Regions from separate parts of the Homo sapiens genome. Here all the other regions are linked to region 3. The links are contacts of gene promoters, found by promoter capture Hi-C in human tissues and cell types (Jung and others, 2019). All regions are on one chromosome and are shown on one strand. The core of a region is centred on a gene start or on the middle of the fragment in contact, and the rest is flanking DNA. Distances in the headings are between cores, read along the strand shown.

Region 1 (4,512 bases), core at 916-3,415, 1.1 Mb before region 3:
TCACAAGTAATATTAGAAAATATGTTGATAATATATCATATACCTATGATAATGAAAGCATATCAAAATTTGTGGGATGTAGGGTAAAACAGAACATATAGGGAAATATGTAGCTTTAATGCCTACATGGGAAAAGAAGCAAAGTCTAAAAATAAAGCTCAGTGATCTAAGCTTCCACCTTAAGAAATTATAAAAATAAGTCCAAGTTATGCTCAAAGTAAACAAAAGGAAGGAAAGGATAAAGGGTAAAAATCAATAAAATAGAAAAGATAAATGGCGTGAACCCGGGAGGCGTAGCTTGCAGTGAGCCGAGATCGTGCCACTGCACTCCAGCCTGGGCGACAGAGTGAGTCTCCATCTCAAAAAAAAAAAAAAAAAAAAAGAAGTAGAGAAAAATCAATAAAACCAAAAGCCACGTTTTTGAAATAAATTCAATAAAACCGACCAGCTGTAGCCAGACTAGTGAAGAAAACAGAGGAGACAAATCCCCATTAGGAATGAAAGAAGGGGTTTTTCTACACGTCCTTCAGACATGAAAAGAATAAGAAGGGCATACTGTGAACAATTCCATGCTGATAAGCTTGACGATCTAGATAAAATACTACTTAAAAAGCAAATTTTTTTTTTTTTTTTTTTTTTTTTGAGACGGAGTCTTGCTCTTGTCGCTCAGGCTGGAGTGTAGTGGTGCGATCTCGGCTCACCACAAGCTCCGCCACCCGGGTTCATGCCATTCTCCTGCCTCAGCCTCCCGAGTAGCTAGGATTACAGGCACCCGCCACCACGCCCGGCTAATTTTTTTGTATTTTTAGTAGAGACGGGTTTTCACTGTGTTAGCCAGGATGGTCTCGATCTCCTGACCTCGTGATCCGCCTGCCTCGGCCTCCCAAAGTGATGGGATTACAGGCGTGAGCCACCTTGCCCGGCTTAAAAAGCAAATTTACCAAAACTGCCTCAAGAAAATTTGGCAGCCCTATTTAAATTAATAATAAAAACTTTCCCACATAGAAAACTCCAGATCTAGATCACTTCACTGGGGAATTCCACCAGTTATTTAAGGAAGAAATGACGCCAATCTTACACCAACGTTTTCAAAATATAAAAGAGGAGGGAGCATTTCCCAGATCGTTTTATGGGGCTAACATTACCTTTATTAGAAAATCAAATACATCACAAGATAATAGAACTGCAGAGCAATATTACTCATGAGCATAGAAACAAAAAGTTCCTAACAAAATATAGCAAATAAGAACCAATAACATGTAAAAAGAATACTATCTATCATATCCAAGTGGGGTTTATCTCAGAATGCAAGGTTGGCTTAACATCAGAAAATCAATCAATATAATCTACTCTATGAATAGAAAACAGAAAAAGAACCATATAATTATTTAAATGGATGCAGAAAAAACATTTGATAAAAATCAACACTCTTTCATCACTAAATCTCTCAACAACTAGGAATAGAAGTCTTCCTCATCCAATTAAGGTTATAAAAAAAATCTACAGCTAACATCAAACTCAATGGTGAAGATTTAATGTTTTCTACCTAAAATCACAAACAAAGCAAAGCAGGCATATCCACTCTCACTATTTGCATTTAAATTTGTATTGTAAGACCCAGATAGTGAATAAGGCAAGAAAAAGAAAAAGGCAAATTGGAAAGAAGAAGTAAAACTGTCCTATTTGCAGACATGATTTTGTATGTACAAAGCTCTAAGAAATCCAGAAAAAAGTTACAAGGATTAATATAAGTCAATTTAGTAAAGTTGCAGGATACATGTTCAAAACACAAAAATTAATTGTATTTCTATATATAGTGAAAGAATAGAAAATAAAAATGTAAATAACAATTCAATTTATGACAGTATTAAGAAAATTAAAATATTTTGGCATTAATTTAACAAAATATGTGCAAGACCCACATAGTAAAAACAACAAAATATTTAAAGAAAAACTAAAGCATACTTAAATAAACAGAGAAACATACCAGGCTGGTGGACTGGGACACTCAATATTTTTAAGATGCCAGTTCTCCCCAGATTGATATATCAATGCAATACCAATCAAAATTCCAGCAAGACTTTTTGTAGAAATTTCCAAGCAAATTCTAAAATTTATATGGAAATGCACATGTTTTGGTTATGTTTTTCCAATTGTGTTCTTTTTTCAAAATTGTTTTAGCATAAAACAACTAGCCAAGACTTGCTATAAACCTATAATTTCAATACAGTGTGGTATAAATGCCATAAGATTTTCAAGACTTGCTATAAACCTATAATAATGTCAAGACTTGCTATAAACCTATAATAATCAATACAGTGTGGTATAAATGCCATAGGAATAGATATATCAATGGAACAGAATAGAGAGTCCAGAAATAGACCCATGCTAATATGGAAATTAATTTTTTTGAAAAATGTCAAGGAAATTCAAGGAAGTCTTCAGTAAACAGTGCTGGGATAATTGGCTATCTGTAGAGGAAAAAATTCTAATTCCCCAAATTAGAACTCTATACTCAGGGAAAATATTCCTCAGAATGAAAGGAGAATAAATACGTTTCCTCACCAACAAAAACTGAAAAAAAATCATCACTAGGAAATATGAACTAATGGGAAAAATAAAAGAAGTTCGGCCAGGCACGGTGACTCACGCCTGTAATCCCAGCACTTTGGGAGTTCAAGGCGGGTGGATCACAGGCTCAGGAGTTCAAGACCAGCCTGGCCAAGATGGTGAAACCCCGTCTCTACTAAAAATACAAAAATTAGCCGAATGCGGTGGCAGGCGCCTGTAATCCCAGCTTCTCAGGAGGCTGAGGCAGGAGAATCTTTTGAACTCGGGGGTGGCAGAAGTTGCAGTGAGCCGAGATCGCACCACTGCACTCCAGCCTGGACGACAGAGTGAGACTCCATCTCACAAAAAAAAACAAAAAAAGAAAAACAAAAAGAAGTTCTTCAGGCAGAAGAAAAATAATCACACAGGGAAACACAGAATTGCAGGAAGAAATAAAAGAGCAACAAAAGAGGCAAATATGTAGGTAAATATAAATGAGTATCAACCACATATACTAAAAACATATATTATTATATATTAGTATGTTATATATTAGTGTATATTTATTAGTATACATATTAGTGTATATTATATATTTTATACTGATTCATTATATACTAATTATTAGTATATATTCGTACATATTTTAGTATATTATTATAATGGTTTGGGGGCTTTAAAGTGTGTGTGAAATGAAATACATGAGAATAGTAAAACAAAATGTGAGAGGATGTTAATAAAGTGTTCTAAGGCTAACATTCCTGGAGAACTCAAAATAAGTAATAATTTACATATGATGGTAACAAGTAAGGAAGCATGTTGTAATTTCCATGGTTGCTACTAAAAGAAATGTAAAATAATATATAACAAGTTCATAAAGAGAAAAAAAGTATAAACAAGTTTCCTTTTTGCCCATAAAGTCACAAAGAGAATGATTTATATACTTTCAGTAACAAATTATTCAAGACTCTTGATTTGTGAAATACTTGAGTTGCTATTAGTCTTGGTATAACCAAATGCCTGCTACCATGTGAGCCAATTCTTATTTGTCATTTTTAATTTAGAGGTTTTTTGTTTTTTGGTTTTTGTTTTTGTTTTTTTTTTTTTTTTTGAGATGGAGTTTTGCTCTTGTTGCCCAGGCTGGAGTGCAATGGTGTGATCTTGGCTCACTGCAACCTCCACCTCCTGGGTTCAAGCAATTCTCCTGCCTCAGCCTCCCAAGTAGCTGGGATTACAGGCATGTGCCACCATGCCCGGCTAACTTGGTATTTTTAGTAGAGATGGAGTTTCTCCATGTTTGTCAGGCTGGTCTCAAACTCCTGACCTCAGGTGATCCGCCTGCCTTGGCCTCCCAAAGTGCTGGGATTGCAGGTGTGAGCCACCACGCCTGGCTAGAGTTTTTTTTATAAAAGAGCATGTTCATTGACTTAGCCAAAAAGCAAACATAAATTTTAGTGAATATTTTATTTGGACATTTTAAAGTTTAGCTTTGTAACCAGAAGGTATGAAGGTGAACATTTATTCATAATCATTGAAATCTAACCAAGTCCTATTGCAGTTTATTTGTGGGTAGAATGGTTGGAAGTAGCATGCTCAAGACATTTAAAATTTTGAAAAAAAAGTCATGCATCTGATTGATCACCATATATGCTCCCAGAGCACAGCTCCTCCGTAATCCTGCTCTTCAGTGCTAGCATTGTTGATTCCTTGGATCCTGTATTTTCCTTCCTCTTCTCACTTGATCCCTTACTTATGTCTGTCAAGGACTGAAACGCAGTGGAAGGTGCAGGGAATTTTTGTAGGAATTGTTTGGCTTAATAGTCCATCAGCCTCCTGATGTTCCCAGAGTCATGCCCTCGTCTCAGGTGAAGCTGTGGAAGTGTTTGATGGAAACAGCTGTCCCTCTGTCGTTTTGTGAAGTTCTACTCCAAGTGGGAGTTGGGTGATATGGTTTGGATGTTT
Region 2 (4,544 bases), core at 1,802-4,301, 1.0 Mb before region 3:
AGTAAGCATACTTCACCCTGTCTGTCCCATTGAATACAGTCACAAAAGCTGGACAGGATGCATGCAACAGCTGTTTGAGGACTCTGAAAAGTAAATAGCAGCAGGAAGAGCAGAGAAGAACAAAATTTGAATTAATACTCTACTGATGATGAGTTTATCCTTCTATTGAATTCCATAATTCCCCATGCTGAAATAAACTTAGCCCAGTAACTGGAAGTGAACATCAGCACAGAGAAAGCTCAAGAAGATGCCCTCTTGAGAGAAAGAAAAAGAATAAAGGAAAGCCCCAGTTTTAATTTTTGTTCTTTCTAATTTTTCTTCATTCTTGTGCATTCTAAGCCCATAAGGAATCCTGTGACAGTGGTGGCACTGGTGGCACTAGGATCCTATAAGAGCCTAAAATTGCTTTATACTACCTCAGACCTTCTGCTATTTGGCTGTAGATATGGGTGCAGTCATGTCAAGAGTGCAGTAGATCAAGGTAAATAAAGTTTTCTGGCTGGAGGACCTAAAGGGAAGTCCCCAAAGAATCAGAAAAAGCAAGGAAGATTATGGAAAAGAAGGAGCTCAGAAAAGCAACCCCATAAGTTATTTATTTATAAATTCCTAGGCTTATCCTGAGTTGTGCATACATGGCTTGACCCTCAACAGCACATACATAGACTTTGAAAACTGAACTACTGGATAGACTGCTATCCAAGTCCCAAAGTGGATACTGGTTGGCATACATGCAGAACCAATCCAAATAGCACTGCAAAGACTTTGAAAATTCAACTGACATGGGAATGACAATCCACAGAAGCCTGGTTGGAATTGGAAGCCTGAACTCAACTTAGTCAATTGTCTGCTAAAACACACCCAAAAGGAATATTCTTAGAATGTAAATAAAACCCATAAATAAGACTCTTAGGACTTATAACTTATTATAATCTAAAATTACTCATTATGTGAAGAACCAAGAAAATCTCAACTCATATAGGATAAGACAATCAATAGACACCACTGCCTAGATGACCCAGATGTTGATTACACAAAGACTTTAAAAATGCTTCAAGAAGTAAGATCAAATACTCTTGAAATGAAGTATAAAAATCTTAGAAATAAATAGAAGACATAAAAATATAATTTTGGAACTGAGAAATACGTAATTAAAAGTTTAAAAGAACATAACTACCTAAATGGGTTTAATAGCATAATGAAGATAAAAGAGGAACTAGCCAATGTTGAAGATAGAACAATAAAAATCATCCAATCTGAACAACACCCAGAACAAAATTGTTGTTGTTGTTGTTCTTTGTTTGTTTTTGAGACAGGGTTTCACTTGTTGCCCAGGCTGGGGTGCACTGGCTGCCACCACTTCTCACTGTAGCCTCAAACTTCCAGTGCTCAAGTGATCCTCCCACCTCAGCCTCCTGAGTAGCTGGGAGCACAGGTGTGTGCCACCATGCTTAGCTAATTTTTTTATTTTTTTGTAAAGACAAGGTCTCACTATGTTGCCAAAGCTTGTCTCCAACTCCTGAGCTCAAGCGAAACTCCTGCCTTGGCCTCCCAAAATGCTGCGATTACAGGTTTGAGCCACCGTGCCTGGATAGAAAACAAAAGATTGAAAAAAACAGTTGACAGACACTCAGGGACCTGTGGTACAATTAAAAAGGTCTAAGATTGATGTCATCAAAGTCCCAGACAGAGAAGAGAAAGGGTACAGTATAGAAAAAAACACATTGAATAAAGAAGGAAAGGCTGAGATGGCTCCCTCAATTTGGTTGAAAACATAAATCTACACAGTCAGGAATTTCAGTGAATGCCAATAAGGTAAACCCAAAGAAATCTACTCTCAGATACATCAAAATCAAACTCTTGAAAACTAAACACAAAGCAGATGACATGACTGTCTATGTAGAAACTCCCAAGGAATTCTCCAAAAAAACTACTATAAATGAGTTCATCGAAGGGTCAGGATATAAGATCAACACACAAAAACCAATTGTGTTTCATATAGTAAGTAACAAGGAACATGTGCAAATCAAAATTAAAACCAAAAAACTGTTTGAAGCATTTACAATTGCTCCAAATAAAATACTTACAGATAAACTTTGCAAAACATGTTGAATTCCTACATGATCTATGTGCTGAATATTAAAAATGCTAAGGAAAGCAATCAAAGAAGACTTAGATAAATGATGAGACGTATTGTGTTCATGGATTTGAAGATGTAACTATTAAAGATGTCAGTTCTCCCCCAAAATGATCTCTGGTTTTAATGCAATTCCTATCAATATCCCAGCGGTTTTTTCTAGACATATAATAGAAAATCTTATTCTAGAATTTATATGAAAAGGCACGGATTTTAGGATAGCTACATCAATCTTGACAAAGAAAAATAAAGTGGGAAGAATCACTGTATTTGATAGTAAGGCTTACTATATAGCTACAGTAATTCTGACAGAGTGATACTAGTAGAGGGATAGACATATGGATGGATGTAACAGAACTGAGGACCAAGAAATAGAAACCAAAAAAATATGCTCCACTGATTTTTGACAAAGGTGCAAAAGCAATTCAATGGAAGAAGGATGGTCTTTTTAACAAATGGTACTGGGGCAATTCGACTTGAGGGTCCACGTGGTGATGAAACTATTCATTATCTTAACTGTGCTAGTAGAGGCATAAACCTACACGTGATAAAATTGTATAAAACTAAATACACATGTAGAAGAAAAATAAACTTGAATAAAATGATTGGATTGTATCAATGTCAATATCCTAGTTATGATATTGTTTGCAGTCTTTTACCATTAAGTATGATGTGATCTGTAGATTATTTTGTAGATGGCTTTTATCAAGTTGAGGCAATTACCTTTTATGCCTTTTTTCAACAGTTTTATTTTTATTTTTATCCTATCAACATCATAAGTAGATGTTGAATTTTGCCAAATGCTTTTTCTGTGTCAGTTAATATAAGTTGGTTTTTCTTCTTTATACTGCTAATATGATGGATTACATTGATTGACAAGCATGACACAGGCTTGCATTCCTAGGATAAAGCCCTCAAGTTGCTCAGATAAATTATTCTTTGTATATACTGCTGAATTTGATTTGCTGGTATTTCATACAGGATTTAGGGATCTATGTTCATGAGGAATACTGATCTGTAATTTTCTTGTAATGTCCTTGTCTGGTATTGGCACTAGAGTAACCTAATGCAAATAGATTGGCATTAGATCATCGTGAGTTGAGAAGTATCCTCTATTTTCCTATTTTCTGAAAAAAATTGTGTACAATTGATGTTAATTCTTTAAGTGTTTGGTGAAATTTGCCAATGAAACTATCTGGATCAAGAGATTTCTTTTTGGAAAAAAATTTTAATGAATTAAATTTATTTAATAGTTACAGGGCTGTTGTCTATTTCATCTTTGGTGAGATCGGGTAGTTTGTAGTTTTTGATAAATAATTGGTCCATTCATTGCATCTAAGTTGCTGAACTAAGTTGCTTGTAGCATTTCTCTATTATCCTTTATTGTGTGTTGAGGGGTTATAGTAATAATTCCTTCTTTCATTCCTGGTCTTGGCAATTTGTGTCCTCTGTCTTTGATTAATTGTCATCTTTGCAGAGGTTTACCCAAGTTATTGAACTTTTTAAAGAAACAGATTTTTATTTCATTGATTTTCTCTATTGTTTCTGTTTTAAATTTCATTGATTTCTTACCTTTATTATTTCCTTCTTTCTGTTTGTGTTGGGAGTGTTTTGCTCTCCTTTTTCTAGTTTCTTGAGGTAGAAGCTCAGATTGTTGATTTGAGACCTCTTTTTGTTTCTAATGTAAGCATTTAGTACAATAGATTTTCCTCTCAACACTCCCTGAAGTGTGCCCCACAAATTTTGATATGCTTTATTTTAAATTTCTTTCAGTCCTACGTTCTTAATTTTTTTTGAGATGTCCTTTTATGTCCCATGGATTATTGAGAAGTGCATCATTCAATTTTCACTTGTTTAGAGATTTTCTTGTTGTATTTCTGTTATTAATTTATAATCTGATTTATCATGATTATTGTACATATTATGTATAATTTCAAGTATTTTAAATTTCCTGAGGTTTTTTTTATGGCTCAGGGTATTCGTGAATTTTCACATGCACTTTTAATGAAACGTGTATTCTGCTGTTATTGTTGGAGTGTTCTACATATGTCAATGAGATCTTGTTGGTTGCTGCTGTTGCTGAAATCTTCTGTATCCCTGCAAATTTTCCACCTAGAAGTTCTACCAGTTGCTGGGGGTTGGGGGCAGTGTTGAAGTCCCAATTATAATTGTGAAGTTGTCAAATTCTCCTTTCAGTGCTATCAGGTTTTTTTTGCTTCATTTATTTTGAGGCTTTGTTGTTTGGTTCACACACATTAGATCATTATGTCTTCCTCATAAGTTAATTCATTTGATCACTAATGTAATGTCCCTCTTTATTTCTAGTAATTTTCTTTGCTCTGTAGTCTAATTTATAAGATATTTTAAAACCCACTCCTGCTCCATAAAAAGTTAATGTTTACATGGTATT
Region 3 (4,425 bases), core at 1,220-3,719:
TTTTCCTGCTCTTCTCACACCTCATAATTTTTTTTTACAAATGTTAGACTTTTATATTAAAGATCTATAGACAATATAGATGATGTTATTTTCTTCTAGGGATAAACATAGACAAATAGGATGATGTTCTGATTATCTCTGTCTAATCAAGGATGAGCTGGGTTGGGATTGGGGTGCGGTTTCAGTAAGATAGTTCTCTTGTGGTTTCTCTCTCTTCTTCATGTGTGATTCCTCTGGGCTTTTGATCAAGAGCCTGGACAGCTGCTGTTTCCTCTGCTCTGAGATTCAGTTCTGCCTTTGAGAGGTTTTAAACGTAGATCTTCAGCCTCCTTCTCATACAACTTCAAAAATAGTGTAAATGTCTTGAAGGGGGAGAATGCTTGTGTATTTGAGGCAGGATCCTTCTAAGCAGAATTAGCTTTCTATGCAGTAGAATATGGGGTAATTTTACTCTGCCTATCACGCCCAGCTGCTCAGCCTCCTGCACCACCCCAGAACTCAGCGAATGTCCTGTGGGAAAACTGGCTATATGTTTGGGGCTCCTCTATATTTCCAATCCATTTCACAGCTCACATGATGGTTAAACATCTCACTGGTTTCTCTTTTTCTGTGTAAACTCCCTCTGCCCAGGCCAAGCTGGATGAGTCTATGCCCAGAATTAGTACATGTCACCAGGGAAGAAAACAGTGGATACTGTCACTCCCTTAGTTCAGACCTCAGCAAAAGATTTATTCAATTGCACTGTAATTTTTGGGACAATGACTGAATAGGTAAAGAGGCCAAGCTAGAAGTCTAAATATGAATATCACTGTGGTCTTTGCAGGAACCTGGACAAGCAAGAAGATCATCTCAGGGTGGACAAGTGTCATTGGAGCTGGGCAGCATGAATTTTTGAGTAATACCTTATGTCCATGAGAAGTATTATTAATAGAATCCAATTCTGTTTCAGCATGGCCTTAGAAAGAGGATGGGCTATCTTTAGATGGAGTAAGTCCCCGAGGTTCTCAGACAACATAAAGGTAAAACTCAAAAGGGAAATACTAGGCTGTCTGCTACAAGATCGGGGTAAGAATCCCAGATTTGTGGCAATATGGCACCAGTTTCAAAGGTTTTATTGCACTTAATCTAATGATCAAATTAGGAGAAAAGATGAATGTTACTATAATATGTAAAAGTAGTGCTTAAGATCATTAATTTCATCTTATTTCGATGTTTTGTTCATTGAATAAACAGTAACCTAATTTAGGGACTTGGTAAAGATGACGTTCACTTTAAGAAAACTGATATAACCAAAAATAAACTAGGCTGGGGGTGGTGGCTCATGCCTGTAATCCCAGCAGTTTGGGAGGCTGAGGTGGGTAGATCACATCATGTGAGGTCAGGAGTTTGAGACCAATCTGGCCTACACGGTGAAACCCCGTCTCTACTAAAAATACAAAAAATTAGCCAGGCATGGTGGCAGGAGTCTGTAATCCTAGCTACTCGGGAGGCTGAGCCAGGAGAATTGCTTGAACGTGGGAGGCAGAGGTTGCAGTGAGCCGAGATGGTGTCATTGCACTCCAGCCTGTGCAACAAGAGCAAAACTCCGTCTCTAAATAAATAAATAAATAAACTAAAAATCTGTGGTAGGGGGAATGGTGGTAGGGAGGTAGTCACAGGATTCAGTTCAACTAATTGAGTGCTCTCATGTGCTATGCATTGTGCTAAGCACACAATAATAAAGTCCACACAAGAGAATTGTGGTGGAGAAAATAACTTGAAAAGAGCTTGAACAGAAGCAATGCAAGACTAGAAGGTGAGACATTGTTATGGGAGAGGAGGTTTTTAGCCTGTCTTTTAAAACAGAAACATCTCAATTGAGGTCTGTTTTCAAAGGAACCCCAACTGGAGGTGGGCTAAGGTGGATAAACTACATTTCTCCTCCAACTATGATTGAGTCACCATTATTAACTGTTAATTCTACCAGGTCATTTTATGGTATTATGCCTGTAAATCTTAATTCATAATTAGAAGTATACTTTTTGTTTTGGTTTCAATTCCTTTTCTGCTCTACCTCTCTCTACTTACTAGATTTGCCCCTTTTAGAACCTGGTTCAACTTGTCCTGTCTTCTTTGCTGATGGACTAATTAAATGCATGGAAGCCATAATCAATTAATCAGGCTTCAAATATGCTTTTAGTGTTCGATAGCTAGGGGAGAGGAAGACAGTAGCTATTTCAGGGGAAGTCCACGTGGGGCGTTCCAGATGGACGCGAGATGGCTATAACCGTCCCTGTCTCTCAGCCCATGTGGGCGCAGGTACAGCTGCTCCGTGCGCGCCAGTGATTGAGAGGCATTTCACCCAGGCCCAGATCTGGGGCGCCAGGCGTCCAGGCTTCCGGCCACGCCCCCTTCCCGCGGTTGCTAGGAGACATGATGTCACCGGAAGCGAGGCCTGGGATAGGCTGAGGCGAAGGGAAGCCTCACCCACTGTGCAGCCCAGGCGCCGGGCGCTGCCTCTACAGCTGTGTGTAGGCCTGGGGGCGAGGGTCTTCGGAACGTAGCGCTGGCTGCGGCCCCGCCCGCCTACCCACCCGCCCGTCCGGCAGCCGGCTCCCGCCGCCTCCGCGCTCTGTCTGGGGCCAGCCACCTGGCGGGCCGCTCCGGTGCGCCTGCCCGCGCTTTTCACTGACAGGCGCTGTTCCCCACAGCCAGCGCCGCCCGCCACGTCCCAGCTCTCGGCCAACGGAGCTGCGCGGCGGGTGACCTTTCCGAGCCCAGCGCGATGACGGCTCCTTGCTCCCAGCCGGCGCAGCTTCCTGGACGCCGCCAGCTCGGGCTGGTGCCGTTCCCGCCGCCGCCGCCGCGGACGCCGCTGCTGTGGCTGCTGCTGCTGCTGCTGGCCGCCGTGGCGCCGGCGCGCGGCTGGGAGAGCGGAGACCTGGAGTTGTTTGACTTAGTGGAGGAGGTGCAGCTCAACTTCTACCAGTTCCTCGGGGTGCAGCAGGTAAGCAAGGAGGCGCGCGGGGCCGGGCGGAGAGGGGCCAGGGCAGGCGTCAGGCGACCCGGTTCCTCAGAGACAGCCGGACACGTAGGGCAGGGCTTGGTCACCCCGGGCTCTGGCTGCCCTCAGCTCGGGTCACCGGGGTCCTCAGCCTTGGAAGGACGTGTCCGTCTTCCCCAGATCTTTACTCCTGCTTCAACTTTTCTAGTCCCAGCCCCAGTGACAGGCTGGACGGCGCCACTAGCCTAGGGTGGCGATGCCTTCTCTCTGCTCCGGCGTTCTGGGGAAGAGCCTTCCCCCTCCAGCTGTGCTGGAGGAAGAACGAAGAGTGGTGTGGGTAGACTTTTTTTTTTTTTTAATTTAACACCTACCTTTTGCCTTCCTGTCCCCCTGAATGTGAGAAAGAGCAGCCGCTTCTCACCCTAAACTGTCATCTTCCACCGATACTTACCTCATCCTTATTCTTATTTCAGCTGCCTCCCCTCCTCTTCCCTTCTGGGAAAGTAGGAATGCACTGTGGCCAGTGTCTGTGTTGCAAAAGTTTTTCTTACTTTGTACTTCGTCATCTTTTTAGCCTGTTAGGTAGATGTTTGTTTCGCTTTCGCAGTTTAGAAATCTGGAGGAATTTGAAGCGTCTAACCAGGTTGGAGGTGTTAAGTTTTTTGAGCAGCAAAGGACTTGGGATGCGATTGGAAGAGAAGCCCCCGGTCAGTAATGTAGGAATGGGTTTTTTTTTCCCCTTTTCCTTTTGTTTCATTTCGTTTTCTTCTATAGCTTAAGACATTAACTTGTAAAATCCATTTGTTGCTTTTTAGTTCTACCATTGAGGGTGGTTGAGTGAGGGTAGATATCCAGTCTCTACCTGAAGCCTTGTGCGAAGGAGAAGATAACATTTCGCTGATTTCAGGCTTATGGGGTGAAAAATGTACACTTCACACGATCTGATTGAGCCCTTCGTACAATGCTTTGAATAGTTATGGGAGTAAAAAATTAATGTTTACGATAGTTGCCATTCAAGGCACACTTCACATGACTAGATATGAAATGCACATCCCCTTCCCCCATAGGTTATCATAAATGTGGGTGAACTATTGAACTTTTACTGAATTTTAATTTTCAGACATTGCATTTTCATTCCATCAGTGAATATAAAATTGCTGGGTTGCCAGGGTACCATGAGTGAAACAATTTTTTATTTTTGTAAGAGTTATAAAGTATAGGCATTTCACACTTCAGATTCATATGTGCAAGCAACTTTGTAATAACTATATTTATGATCTGTTGCCTGGTGCCCCTCCCTGCTTATAGATACACTATATATCTCATTTTCAAAGCAAATGATGGAGTATGTGTAAAAATAATTAGTGAAGCTCTGATGACTTTTAAGAACTACTTTAATACTGGGAATAATTAGAATTTATCATTGATTACATTCTGTACGT

The links. The method cuts DNA at HindIII sites, captures the fragments that hold promoters and counts their contacts. A contact is called where the count stands out against the background at its distance.
Region 1: a contact is called between a fragment that was not itself captured here and the fragment with the promoter of DNAJC1 in region 3, in 1 of the 25 tissues and cell types used here (aorta).
Region 2: a fragment that was not itself captured here is called in contact with the fragment with the promoter of DNAJC1 in region 3 in 1 of the 25 tissues and cell types used here (dorsolateral prefrontal cortex).

Annotation. Positions count from the first base shown.
Region 1 is chr10:23,121,497-23,126,008 of GRCh38, reverse strand. It overlaps MSRB2 (methionine sulfoxide reductase B2), which reads right to left. Exons shown (of 5, transcript NM_012228.4): 5 at 3,996-4,512. Among named protein-coding and RNA genes, the nearest start is that of MSRB2, 28 kb to the right of the region's middle. The HindIII fragment of the contact is 3,578 bases long and covers 377-3,954 here.
Region 2 is chr10:23,024,905-23,029,448 of GRCh38, reverse strand. All of the region lies in intron 16 of ARMC3 (armadillo repeat containing 3), which reads right to left. All of the region lies in intron 2 of LOC107984215 (a long non-coding RNA gene), which reads left to right. Among named protein-coding and RNA genes, the nearest start is that of MSRB2, 68 kb to the left of the region's middle. The HindIII fragment of the contact is 9,456 bases long and covers 1-4,544 here.
Region 3 is chr10:22,001,774-22,006,198 of GRCh38, reverse strand. DNAJC1 (DnaJ heat shock protein family (Hsp40) member C1) reads left to right here and starts at 2,469. Exons shown (of 12, transcript NM_022365.4): 1 at 2,469-2,986. The coding sequence starts at 2,765. RefSeq lists enhancers at 2,216-2,345, 2,376-2,425, 2,305-2,805 and a silencer at 2,466-2,835. The HindIII fragment of the contact is 11,297 bases long and covers 1-4,425 here.